4 separate regions of the Homo sapiens genome follow, and regions 1, 2 and 4 are each linked to region 3. Evidence: promoter capture Hi-C in human tissues and cell types (Jung and others, 2019). All regions are on one chromosome and are shown on one strand. The core of a region is centred on a gene start or on the middle of the fragment in contact, and the rest is flanking DNA. Distances in the headings are between cores, read along the strand shown.

The links. Contacts are between HindIII fragments. The study calls those that stand out against the background at their distance.
Region 1: a contact is called between a fragment that was not itself captured here and the fragment with the promoter of LMCD1 in region 3, in 1 of the 25 tissues and cell types used here (aorta).
Region 2: a fragment that was not itself captured here is called in contact with the fragment with the promoter of LMCD1 in region 3 in 2 of the 25 tissues and cell types used here (hippocampus and thymus).
Region 4: a fragment that was not itself captured here is called in contact with the fragment with the promoter of LMCD1 in region 3 in 1 of the 25 tissues and cell types used here (hippocampus).

What each region holds. Positions count from the first base shown.
Region 1 is chr3:8,460,265-8,463,409 of GRCh38, reverse strand. All of the region lies in intron 3 of LMCD1-AS1 (LMCD1 antisense RNA 1), which reads left to right. Among named protein-coding and RNA genes, the nearest start is that of LMCD1-AS1, 40 kb to the left of the region's middle. The HindIII fragment of the contact is 6,278 bases long and covers 1-3,145 here.
Region 2 is chr3:8,443,027-8,446,500 of GRCh38, reverse strand. All of the region lies in intron 3 of LMCD1-AS1 (LMCD1 antisense RNA 1), which reads left to right. Among named protein-coding and RNA genes, the nearest start is that of LMCD1-AS1, 57 kb to the left of the region's middle. The HindIII fragment of the contact is 7,646 bases long and covers 1-3,474 here.
Region 3 is chr3:8,500,482-8,504,035 of GRCh38, reverse strand. LMCD1 (LIM and cysteine rich domains 1) reads right to left here and starts at 2,213. Exons shown (of 6, transcript NM_014583.4): 1 at 2,056-2,213. The coding sequence starts at 2,097. It overlaps LMCD1-AS1 (LMCD1 antisense RNA 1), which reads left to right and starts at 2,378. Exons shown (of 4, transcript NR_033378.1): 1 at 2,378-2,565. The HindIII fragment of the contact is 11,258 bases long and covers 1-3,554 here.
Region 4 is chr3:8,544,479-8,547,801 of GRCh38, reverse strand. All of the region lies in intron 3 of LMCD1 (LIM and cysteine rich domains 1), which reads right to left. Among named protein-coding and RNA genes, the nearest start is that of LINC00312, 26 kb to the left of the region's middle. The HindIII fragment of the contact is 8,356 bases long and covers 1-3,323 here.

The DNA.
Region 1 (3,145 bases), core at 445-2,944, 40 kb after region 3:
GGCTCGGGAGTTCAGGTATGTCATTTCAACAGTCAAGGGGAGAGATGATGGTGACTTGGCCTAGGATGGAGGTATTGAAGAGAGAAGTGGAGACATTCAATTCCAGGGAGATTTAGGAGGCTTCATTGACAGGGCTTGGATATATGTATTTTTTTCCTTTAGAGAAGGGAGAAGAGGCACCAGAGATGAATTCCAGATTCATCACTTGTGTGAATAAATGGATGTTAATCCGTTCATTGACACTGGGGACACTGAAAAAAGACCAGATTTGTGGAGTTCATAAGTCAGCTTAGGCTAGATTATGCTGAGATAACAAATGACGCCCAGAGCTCAGTGGCTTACAGAAACAAAGGTTTATTTCTTTCTTGTGCTCTATGGCCACATGGATCAGTTGTACCTCTTTTCCATATCATTTTTACTCTGGCATCCATGATGATGGAGTAGAGGCATCTAAGAGGGTAAAGGAGAAAGAAGTAGGGCAACCACATGCTGGTTCTTAAATCTTTGGGGATGACACACATCCCTTTTTAGATTTCCTAGTACAAATCTAATCACATAGCCATGCCTGGGTATACAATCCTCTTATAGGTAGGGACACCCCAGGATGGGTGAAAAGTATTTTGAACTACAATAAAATTTACCAAAGGGAAATCTAACCTTCTCATCTGTAAAATGAGGATGATAATAGCATTTACTTCATAGGGTTCTTGTGATGAATTGAGTGAATTAATGCATGTATAGTGCTTAGGGCATTCGTACAATATAACCTGTGTCTCAGAAAGGAAAAAGAATTTGCCTAGCAATACCTGTTATATAACACCTGCTTCACCTAACTCCTGGATGTGTGGTAAGAATAAAATTCCATCTGACAAACATTTACTGGTTATACAATATGTATATACTCAGTGCTGGGCTGGGTTCTGGAGATTCAGATGAGAAGACCTTCCTTTTAAGGTAAGGAGAAGTGAGGCAAAGACATGGTCAATAAGTAAAACACCCAGGGGTCATGAACAGTGCTACGTCAGAGTGGCCAGCTCGGGACTTTTATATTTTTCTTTGGATGAGGAAACATGTCTGAAATCCCCAAGATTTCTCAGAAGTGTTGATCCTTGAGCTGGATCTTAAAACCTGAAAGGTCTCATCAGATAAGCAATGAGGGAAGGGCATTCTAGGAAGAGAGAACAGCATGTGCACTCACGGAGCCAGAGCTGCCTAGTACATTTGTAAATTTCACATGATGGGATGAAGTGGACATGAATGCCCATCTCTCCCCAGCCTGGGACTCATTCAAGCCATCATTGATTGATTGGCAAACCTAATGATCTTTGCTGAATGATTAGGCCAACCTAATGATCTGGTTTCACTGAAACCTCTCAGCTGGTGACCTGGCTCTCATTTTGTTCAGTGGGATGTTTGAACTGGAGGAGAGGTGGGGAGAAAGAGTTAACTTCAACTGGAGAGCAGTTTTGAGATAAAGGGGCTGGGGGTAGAGATACATTTAACAATTATTAAAGGGAAAGGAACTTTGAAGAAATGTTATAAAAGGCACTTTGAAGGCACATTTGGCTAAGGATGTATAGTACAATTCCCATCCTCAGTCTTCTCCATAGACCTTCAGCAAAATTTTACTTCATTGTCCAAATGCTATAGGGAATAGATTTGTGTGTCTATGTATTTGTGTGTTTGTGTGTGTTAGCATGTGTGTGTTTGGAATAAGGTGATACATTAAATTTGACTGTAATGCAATGGTAACCTGGCCAACAAGGTCCAGGTATCTTTGAGTCACAGGCTAAACAGCTCAGTATTGTTATAATACAGGCAGTGTTAGTATATGAAAATATGGAAGCAGTCAAGACTATTGTGAATGGCTTTGAACATCAAACCAAGAACTTCAACTTGAGCACCCAAAGTTAAAAACTTGACAAGCATACAGAACTAATGTTGTATGGTGGACTAAAGAAGTAGAACTACAGTCCTTTGGTAAAGGTGACTAAGTGTCCTCACATGCCCTCAAGAGGAACTGCCAACACTGGTGTGATTGTGGAATGAGAGAAAAAGGGGGAGAAATTGGTGCAGTTTCAAGATAAATAGTATTGCTTAAAAAAATAGCAACCACAACACAGTCTTGCCATGATATCTCTATGTGGTGTTGCCATGGAAAGAGCTATTTTCATTGGATGTGAGAGCAGGAAGCCATATAAAACAGAGAGAAATGGCCAGAATGCAAGCTTGAAATATCCCTGGGCTGCCACAACTTAGCAGCATTTTCTAAACAGGGCACTTTCTTTGTGTTTAGATGATAGGAATGAGAAAAATGAAAGGTCCCAATGATCTATTCCTTCCATTTTCCCACTGAAAAGAAAGTATGCCTAAAATCCATGGAATGAGGGAGATATTCCAAGTAAATGACAATTTGCTGAATGAAGAATGATCCCTAATGGCGAGTCTGTGACCTCATGCCCATCACCGACTTCCCTTTCCAACGTCCACCACCATCTTTAAATGATGTGCATATCTCATTGCCCTCTTTTTAAATGTATGCATTAAAATTATTTAAACAGTTGTGGTTGACTTTTTAATGGATATTTTAAGGGGCATGTTAAGGGGCTCCAGTGAGATCCAAAAGATTAATGAGGACATACAGATCTTTCCAATAAAAACATGTTTTTAAACATTCATAATATTGGGAAAAAAATAAAGCATAGTCAGAACTTGGAATGAGATGCTGGAGCCACCGTAGGTTTCTGATAAAATGATTAGTGCCCTAGAGAGTGGTGAAGTTTTGGGTTGGAACAGGAATTTGTAGAGTCTTGGGACTCGGAGCTGAGGGCTCCTGTTGAATGCACCAGAAACCAGGGAGGCAAATAATATTTTGTTATCATGATTGGCTCCCCTGTGGCCCTGTGGTCATGACCTTAAAGTTGACACAGTCCCTGAGGCTGAAGAAGGGAAGGGTTGTCCGTTTTAGGCAGCAAAAAGCTAGGGCATTAAGTCTTGTGTTTTCTGAACAACATGTGGGGAAAACAAACCTCAGCATGAGAAGGGAACGTGAAGACGCACCCATTCCAGAGAGAGACACAGATACCAACCAAATGTTAGTTTCCTGCCAGTTTTGAGCGATTGCTCCTAGTAACCTCTTGATTCC
Region 2 (3,474 bases), core at 757-3,256, 57 kb after region 3:
AGCAGGAATGGGGAGTGGCTACTGAATGAGTATGGAGTCTCCTTTTGGGGAGATAAACAATTCTGGGACTAGACAGTAGTGATGGTGGCTCCGCATTGTGTATGTATTAAATGCCCACTGAATTGTCTACTTTAAAATGGTTAAAATGGTAAATTTTATGTTATGTGTATTTTACCACATGCATACACAAACCTTTCCCAGGTTACAATAAGGCATGGCCATTTTTGTTTCAATAGGATTTGTATAGATTCTTTAGATATGGGTGTATTTTTAAAACTATATAGACTATTATGAGTTTAACACCACAACTGCCCATAGTGTGATCTGTGGATCAGCAGCATTTCCATCAGCTGGGAGCTTGTTAGAAATATAAGTTCTTGGATCCCTCCCCAAACCTAGTGAGTCAGATTTTCTGGAGGTGGGCTCAGCGATCTCTGCTTTAACAAGCTCTCCAGGCACTTCCTATGCACACCAATGCCAAGTTTGAGGAGTATTTCTTTACGATTCACTAGGCCATTGGTTCTCAGCTTTTAGTGTGAGTAAGAATCAACTGGAGAGTTTGTTACACAGGCAGGTTCTTGAGTCCAGAGACTATGATTCCTTACATGTGGATGATGTTCAGAAACCTGCATTTCAACAGGCATCAAATGCAGGTGGTCCAAGGACCAATTTCTAAAATGCAGAAATAATGAAGAAAATTGATTTTTCAAACTTTATTGTGCATGAGTGTAAACTGGAAAGTTTGCTAAAATTGCAAGTTTCTGGGACCTGCCTCCAGATGTTCTGATTCAATAGGTCTAAGATGAAGACTGAAAACTCACCTTTTTAACCAATCACCTCAGTTAATTCTGAGGTCAAGAGACCACGTTTTAAAAACCACTGCCCCAGACATGAAGCTCCCTGAGGACAGAGGACAGCTTTCAAGTGATCTTGCTAGGCTAGAGCTATGGCTTCAATCTAATAAAATGGAATTCACTGGAATGGTTTGCATGTTCAGGACTTGAGCCCAGATCATCAATTACATCAGTAAAAAATCCAGGAGATGTGACTTACCTGCCATTCACGTAAAAGATACAAAGCAAAAAGAATCCCTCTGTGGTTGTATTCAGTGTTATATACTGAGGAAGCTAAGACAGACTTAGGCTTACTTAATAGAAGTGTTGTATCTAAATAGTTGGCATTCAAACTGTACACAGAATATCTTTAATTCTAGATGTTACACACTGGAGCGGAAAGTGAAACTAACATTTATTGAGGCGACTACACATTTATCTTATTTATTAAACTATTTTATTCCATTGAATGCTCATCCTATTACATAATCTTTAAAAGATTATACCCATTTTAAAGGTAAGCAAAATTGAGGCTGCCATGAAGGAGAAGTAGCTTGCCCACTGATTTTCTACTTTTCTCCAGAGTACCTTGACATCTCTTTTGCCACCAGCACTGATAGCCTCTGTGCTGGGAGATGCTCAGTACAGTCAAAGGGGATTGGTTCCAGGGCCATTGCGGATACCAAAAACTGCTCCTGCTCAAGTCCTTTATGTAAAATAGCATATTTGCCTGTAACCTATGTACTTTAGATTACTTATAATACCTAATACAATGTAAATGCTACGTAGTTAGTTTATATTTTATTTATTTAATGTACTTTACAATTCGTATTATTTGTACATTTTTTGGAGAATATTTTTCATTTGGTTGAATCCGCAGATGTGGAACTCGCACATATAGAGTGCTATAATCCCACTCTAGCAAAGTGTCCCAATGCCCCACTGTAAGCCCTGTCATATTGGGAGGTCATCCTTTGTAACATGGGAACGAAGCTGCACAGCTTCTGAGTTCAACATTTCCTCGTGGAACGATTCCAGCCCAGCGCTGGGATGACATACTGTTTGCTTTGCGTCTCTGGTATGTGCCTGGTGAAATATTTACCAACTGGTCCGCTCTGTCCACAGAGCGGCCGTGAGACTGTCTGTGTTTGCTCCAGTCAGCTTCCTGGCTCAGCCTGTTTCCTTGGCAACGGCCTTTCCTGTCAGCAGCCTTGAAGGAAGGTATAAAAGAGCACACTGTTAGGAATTGCTGTCTGGGGCCCAGCGGGGTTAGGTTTGCCTCCTGGATCCTTAACAAGGAAAGAGGAGTAAGTTCTTCTCTTAAGCATTGCCACTTGCTTTTCCTGTGTCCTGAAAACTATCTTTTCAGCTTTGTGTGTTACATCAGCCAGGAAGGTTACACTATGTGATCTGGTGGGAGTTGGGGACGTGGGGGGGATGGAGGAGGAGGCATTTCCCCACAAAGGACTGTAATTGAATCCTGTGATGGTTTTGTAGTGTAATAATCTGATTTTGATTTGTCAATTATTTTCTCTTCTCTTAAATAGCTCTCCCACATTTTCCTTCTCTGCTTTATTCAGACCTAAACATTCCTGACTTAGGAAGCTTAATGTCCCCCAGAGTGCCTTCCCCGACCACTGCTTTACCCCACCAACCTGAAGCCACTGAAGGTGTTCCTAAACCTTCAGCGGACTGAATTGCTCCTTTGCTCTGGAATTTCTGGTGACTCCCTGTTGCTACCAGATGAGCCCCAAGACCCCTATGATGGAATCCGATGTTCTCATGCTTGAATGAGCCCAGCACTGCCCAGTGGAGGTGATTGTAAGCCATATATGTCATCTTAAATTTTCTAGCAGCCACACTAACAAAGTCAAAACAAATGAGTGAAGTTAATTTTAATAATATATTTTATTTAGCTCAGTATAACCCAAATATTATCATTTCAACAGCCAAACAATGTAAAAATATTAATGAGGTATTTTACTTTATTTGCTCCCACTGAGTCTTCAAAATCGGTGTGTATTTTACACCCACAGCACATCTCAGTTCAGACCAGCACATCGCAAGTGCTCAGGGGCCTGTGGCTCTGTATCTAGCCCCTGCCTACCCTTCCTGCCTCTTCCTGCTCCACCTTCCCAAACCCTACAAGTTTCCCAGTCCCTCACATGCATGAAAACTTTTGCCATCCTGTGACCTTCTCCTGCCCTTTTGCTCCATGCTGTGCTCTTGCACTTCTCATTCCTGTTGCCTGGCTGCCCTTCTGTACTTGAACTTCTATTCATCTTTTAAACCCATGTTTAACGTCTTCTTTTTCCTTCCCTGTTTTATCTGTCCAGTAGCACCTTGTGTGTATCTCAGATATAACACTAAGTGTGTTGTATTCTGATTATTCGCTTAGAGGTCTCCTCTACCACAGGGAGCAGTTGTAAAGGCAAGGGCATGTTTTGGTCACGTTTGTGGCTCCTGGTAAATATTTGAATGAATGCATGAATGAGGGAATGAGGACATGGAAAACTGCTTTGGTGCTGATGTTAGGATGTTCCAGTTTCTCTTCTGCTGTATGAGGAGCAATGCTTCATTCCAAACTACTGTTGTCCCTGTACTTTTGGTGTTTCACTGGGAGAGTTTGAGCTTAGCTGAG
Region 3 (3,554 bases), core at 964-3,463:
AGGCCAAGGAAGTTGGCACTAGGGGGTGACAAGAAGGAGAACATGTTCCACCTCTAATCAGGATAATCACACTCCCCTATGCAAAGGAAAATAAAAACAAGGCTTCCTCCAAGTGGCAACACAGGACTGTGGTGAGGAGGAGGAGTCTCCATATACCTCATCTCACCTCATACAGTAACTATCAACCAGCTTATATTAAAAATACTCAGAATCATTTCACTTTCCAGAGGACAATGGAACTCTGCCACCTTTAGCCGTGAACTATTCTGTGTCTGAACTTGGGGAGGCAGTTCAGACACACAAATATCAATGCTACAAGTTAAAAAATAATGCATAAAATGAAGCCTATGCAAACAGTGTGGTCTTAGCTGGACAGATATTCTCATGAGTCACCCACAGGTTTTTGAGTCCTGCTGTGTGGCATGGTGTGCTATGTTCAAACAGGGATGAACAAGACAGGTTTGCCCTCAAGGAGTCCAGAAAAATGTATAGAGAAATAAGAGCATTGCATGCATAACTCACTACTAGGTAGCAATTAATAGGTATCTTCTAAGAGTCTAAAATGTTATGGTAATTTCTGTAGGAGGGGAAATGACTTGATTCTGCAAATAGCTTGGCAAATGCAGTGAGGCATGATACATTCCAGACAAATGCCCAGATTCAATGTGACTTGGTACCCACATTTAGAAGGATCCACTGGACTCTGTGACAGGGTCTGGGCAGGTGGTCTACAGAAGAGCACAGCTACAAATTAGACAGTGCATGCTGTGCCTCTGAGTGGCTGTTTGTGTCTTTAGTTTGATTCTCACGTCTTTTGTTTTTCCCCCTCTCATTCTACCCTGCAGGTTAATGGCAGATATTTAAGGAAGACTTTGCCCTTCAAGACTAAACCCTGTGAAATCAGAGTTTAACAATGACTGCTTTGGGAAATTAACTCACAGTGTCAGTATCCCTGCTACCACTGCCATGAGGGAGGTTAGGCCTATCCTCCCCACATCAGAGACAAGGAAACTGAGGCTCAGAAAAGTGACCTGGTGAATCATGTGCAGTTAAAAAGTGGCAGGGACTGAGTCTGGATGCCTAGGGCTTGCCTTACAGTCAGCTGCCTGTTAGAACCAACTCTCTGTGACCCCGGGCCTCAGTTTCCCGATCTGTAAAGCCTAGGTTGTCTCTCTGTTCCCTTCCCGTTCACATGTTCTCTAAGTCTCCAGCCTGTGCCTTCTCCCAGCTGCATTCAGGTAGGCAACAAGTGGTATTGGAGCTATAGGCACAGCCGCAGGCTCCTGTGCAGGAGTTTACCCATGACCTTCTGGGCTCCGGGCCAGCCCTTCTTGTAAGGGAAACGTGCAGACCCTGGGGACAGAAATCAGTTCCCTTATGCTGGAACTGCTGCCACTGCCAACATCACCAACTAAAGAAACTGCGTGCGTGTGTGTGTGTGTGTGTGTGTGTGTGTGTGTGTGTGTATTGGGGGAAACACACAAAACACTGGGATAATAGCAAAAGGGAGACTGTGAGTAAATATTACATGCTCTCAACCCTTACTTCAGCCACCTGAGGACAGGGAGTGAGGAAGCTAGGGGTTTTTCCTTTACAGACCATAAGATTTCATATATATATATTATATATTATATATATTTTATATATAATATATATTATATATATTTTATATAATATATATTATATATTTTATATATAATATATATTATATATAATATATATTTTATATATTATATATAATATATATTATATATATTTTATATATATATTTTATATACATTTTATATATATTGTATATATATGTAAAACCTTAATTAAACTTTAACTAGCATCACCAAAGACATAAGACCCTTTGCAAATATTTTACACAACATTGGGTTTGGGGTGTGTGTGCCTGTTAGCTCAAACATGTATTCCCAACTATTTGTTTTCCATGCAGTTTTGGAATTTAAAGAGTTCCCTTCTCATTACCTTTTGGGAAGTTTCCGCGAACAGATGGGAAGGGGAACAAGAAAAAGTAAGAATCTGGGTAAATACAAACAGCTTTCCACTCACCTTTTTAACTCCTGGGTTGAGGTCCTTAGCCACCTTTGCCATCCTCTTCTGGGGTGGGGGAACAGCGCCTGGCTTCTCAGGCAGAGGCGCGAGGGCGCGCAGCGGGGACAGCGGCGGCTGAATGGCCAAGTTCGCGGGCCTGGGAGGGAGCTCTGTGCGCAGCCAGGCGCAGCTGGGCCGCTTTAATTGGAGAGCGGGACTCCCTCTAAAACCTCGCCAGCCACTCCGCGCCGGCGCTCGCGCGAGGCCAGCCAATCCCAGCGCGAGGCTGTCCCCCTCCCTCAGGGAGGTCTCTGCACTGTGGCAGCGAGCGGAGCTGAGCGCCGGCTGCCCTGACGTCAGCATGGCCGCGGCCCCTGACTACCCAGCTCCCTTCTATCCCTCGAGCGGCAGGAATCCGTCCCCACGCCCTTTTCCTTTAAAGGGCAACGGGCCGAAGGTGGGGCGGGCGGCGCGGCTCCCGCGATCCATTCAGGTCAAAAGGGAGAGTGATCAAACAGGAGAGCCGAGGTATTTTTAGTGAGCTGGATCCAGAAATAAATGCTGAGCTGTGCTCCCCTTCCCACCCTTTCTGCCTGGTCGTAGGGGGCGCGGGGAGGGCTGAGGGAGGAGGTGTTTTGCAGGAGCTGGCTAACGTTTCCCAAACCTGGGCGAGTTCTCCAATATCCAGAGAGGAGAAAAGATTCCAGCGAGTTATGATTTTTTTAAACTTAACGTTCGTAAAGTATTAAACTGCTTTCTTATAACTTGCTTTAACATAAATCCTTCTTATTCCATGAGCAAGAAATCACTGTCCTGATCTTAGAGATGCTCCTGTGGACATACTGTCTTGTTGTATGCTCATATTATCTCAGATATTATTATTATTATGACTGTAAGACGATAGATGAGGAAATAATCAGAATAACTGGTCCACAGCTGAATTACTGAGCAAGGCTTTAACCTGAGAGACTGAGAGTAATAGAGAGAAAGCTCATGGGGGCGTGGCGGGGGGGGGGAGGGAGGCGGCGGGCACAGGATTGTAAACTATAAACTAGGAAGTTAGTAATTTTTAGATAAATGGGGTCATGCAGGCCTGGACAAACAAGATTCCATCTGAGTTCACAAATCCATGGAATGTGGAGTCCTTGCAACGCATAACATAACTACTCTTATAAGACAGAATTGGCCAGGTTCCTCTCTCTATGCCACGTTGTTTGCCTATAAAGCCACATCTCTCTGCTGAGCCGGTTCCACAGACTTGGATTCCAGAGGCATTTCCCCCCTGCCCTGACAGAGGATTAAACACAAGCCCTTTTTATCCTAGAGAGAATACTGCTGTCTCTGTTGTGAGGTGTTCGGCCTGTAACCCGTCTTTGCAGTGCCCCCTGCCAGAAAAACCAGGGTCCCGTGGGCTAAAATAAAACTCGGTTGCACAGAGACTGAAGAGTGGTCCCGAAGTACACCATTCGGGAGGGATTTGGTGAGAAGGGGAGGCTGCAGTTCCCACTGTGGGGCTG
Region 4 (3,323 bases), core at 46-2,545, 45 kb before region 3:
CCATTCTCCTGCCTCAGCCTCCCGAGTAGCTGGGACTACAGGTGCCCGCCACTGCTAATTTTTTTGTATTTTTAGTACAGACAGGGTTTCACCGTGTTAGCCGGGATGGTCTTGATCTCCTGACCTAGTGATGCACCCGCCTCGGTCTCCCAAAGTGCTGGGATTACAGGCATGAGCCACCGCGCCTGGCTGTGTAAGTGCATTCTTTGACATTCACACAAAGACAACATCACCTGAGGACACATTTCTCAGAACGAAACCCCAGCATTAAGTGGTGTATGACTGTCCTTTGTTTTAAAAAGGATTTTAAAAACTTACACCTTATTGGCTCATGGTAACAGCTTGCCAACAACTTTGTGTTTATCGTTCCAGACAATAGTATATTTATTAAATAAGGGCACCCAGTCTTCTTTCTGCCTGGAACAAATAACAAGTAGGGTTGTACTTAATGTATTTAAATGCTATTTTCTGTGCGTGTGTACCATTTAACATGAGTCCTTGGTCAGTGGGTTCTGTTTCTCCTGTGACTGGGCCAGCCCATGTCATGGTGTGGGACAGGGAACAATCTTGCGTGTGAGAAAGAGACACTTGTTTGCATCTGCTATTGTGTGCTCTATCTGTTGGTTAAGTAGCTAGCTGTCTACTTGCTAATAATAATCATTATTTTATTGCTTATTCTCCAAGGAACACTGTAGTTTTCAATTTTGGATGGCAGTGGAAAGAAAAAGGAGTCTACATTTACTCATGGGCTAGGTTTTCCATCAGAATTTGAATAAAGCTCATTTTGCTCTGTTCTCTGACTTTCAATTAATGGTAATAATTACATTTACTAGTTTGCCTCTATCACCAAAGAAAAGTTGCTGCTTTTAAACCTCTTCTTTAGTATCATTTGCTAGACGGTAGCCAGTTGATAAAACTCTTAACAGTATAATGACAAAAGTTATGCCAGCTGGCTGCCCTCACAAAACCTGTGTCCCACTCGGCGCTCTCTTCTCACTGGCCCCACAATTGATAGGCTTGATTTCTACCTTCACTCATGGACTTACACCTCCCCCTGCCCCTGGAAGGAAAAGCCCTCTCTCTTCTTTCCTGTTCTTACAAGCAGCACTGTATGCTTTGGTCTCTCCCTAGTCCTTAACCATTCCTAGTGTATTTGAGCTGACCCTCTAGCGGGACAGTTCAATCCCTGAGGGCAGGCCATGTCCCTTCTACCATAGTAGCAAGAGCAAAGGCTCTGGAATCGGCTTGTCCTGAACTGAAATCCTGGTTGTAGGCATGCCGGCGGTGTGACTGTGGCCATGTCATGCCGTCTCTTTGCACAGGTTCTTCAGCTGTAAAAAGGAGGATCGTAAACCCTAGGGTGGCTATAGGATTACTTAAAAGAACCACAGCGCCTACCAAGCTGCTCCAACCACAGCCCATGGGCCACATATGGCCCAGGACAGCTTTGAATGTGGCCCAACAGAAATTTGTAAAAAATTCATAAACATTCTTAAAACATTATGATATTTTTCTGTGATTTTTTTTAAGCTCATCAGCTATCGTTAGGTGATGGTGTATTTTATGTGTGGCCCAAGACAATTCTTCTTCCAGAGGAGCCAAAAGATTGGACACTCCTGATCTACATGCTACTGACTTTCTCTTTTTTTTTGTTTTGTTTTGTTTTTTTGAGACAGAGTCTCGCTCTGTCACCCAGGCTGGAGTGCAATGGCCTGATCTTAGCTCACTGCAATCTCTGCCTCCCAGCTTCAAGCGATTCTCCTGCCTCAGCAGGAGAATCCGGAGTGGCTGGGATTATAGGCGTGAGCCATTACACCCGGCTAATTTTTGTATTTTTAGTAGAGACGGGGTTTCGCCATGTTGGCAGGTTGGTCTTGAACTTCTGACCTCCACCAACCTCGGCCTCCCAAAATGCTGGGATTACAGGTGTGAGCCACCGCACCTGACCCTGTTTGCTTTTCTATCTGTGGCTTTTCTCTTTTCAAATCTCTGATTACAGTTAGACTCACCAGCTACATATGTCAAAGTAGTGTCTCTCAATGGACACAGTGTACAATAACCCTGCGAAAAATTACTAACATGCAGATTCCCAGGCACCAAGCCCCAGTCAAGATCTCCATCCAGTAGGTGAGGTGTGGGGTACAGGAATCTGCATTTTTAACAAGAATCCTGGTAAATCTGATGCAAGAAGTTGGCTCCTGGACTTTACTTGCACTACTGTTTCAATAAAATACTGGCAAACAAAAAAATTAGTGAGATAAACAACTGGGATTCTCGAGCACTGGACAGAGATCTGAGGAAAGGCCAGAGGACGATTCCTAGCTGCTTCAGGCTTTTGCAAAATGTAAGAATTCTCAAGGAAGAAATATGAATTTTGCTAATACCTGAGAGATGCCTAAATGAGCTCTTACTCTGCTCCAAGTTATAGTCAGAGATTCACATTCTTGATCAGAATGGTGTAATTTAAGTAGATGATCATTTTAGATTTGCTGGCTTTGCAACATGAATTTTGTTTCTCTCAAAACTGAATATTTTTATTTCATTTACCTCCTGGGCAACATTCCTAATTAAAAAAAAAGTCAACCTTGTCTAAAATCGCTTTTTCTTAGAAAAGTATAATTAAATCATTATGGACATAAGGTATTTCATGGTTTATTAATTAAAAAATATGCAAAGTCAACTTCTAATAGTAGAATCGACAAGGTCTCAGGTCAGTAACATTTCCCCATTAATATGACTGGTAACTGTCTGAATATTAATGTGTTCACAAGTAACTGTCCAATTTGGCCTCATTTATATATTTGTTTTTATTGAACGTAATTCTTATGCATGGGTGAGTCCCAGGGACGGGGAGATTAGGGGAAGATACAGGTCAGGACCACGGCCTGAGAAACCGTGAGAGGCAAATTGCTCATCCTGGACAACCATTTTCCATTTCTGTGCCTGACCCTGACTCTGAACCTTAGTACCCAGTCTCCTGATTCCTATCACTGAGGTGGCTGCTGCTAGGTTCATCCTCCTAGAACCCATCTGGCCCATAGCTTATCGCTTGGGGCTGGACTCATTTGGGAACTGTGGGAGTGAACATGGAAATTCATGCTGAAATGCATATTGTACAGACCCTGTTGCTGTCTGATTTTAGGGAGCAGTGGTGAGGAAGCTAGGGTTGTTGTGGGGTGGGGGAGTACAAGTCTAGGGCTTGGTACCTGCTGGGATTCATAGTAAATAAATTCTGGGAAACAGCATAGAAAGGGGAAAGGCAGGTGACCTGAGCTCCTGTGGGACTCCAATTGAGGGGTGGCTGCAGACGCCCCATTGGTCAC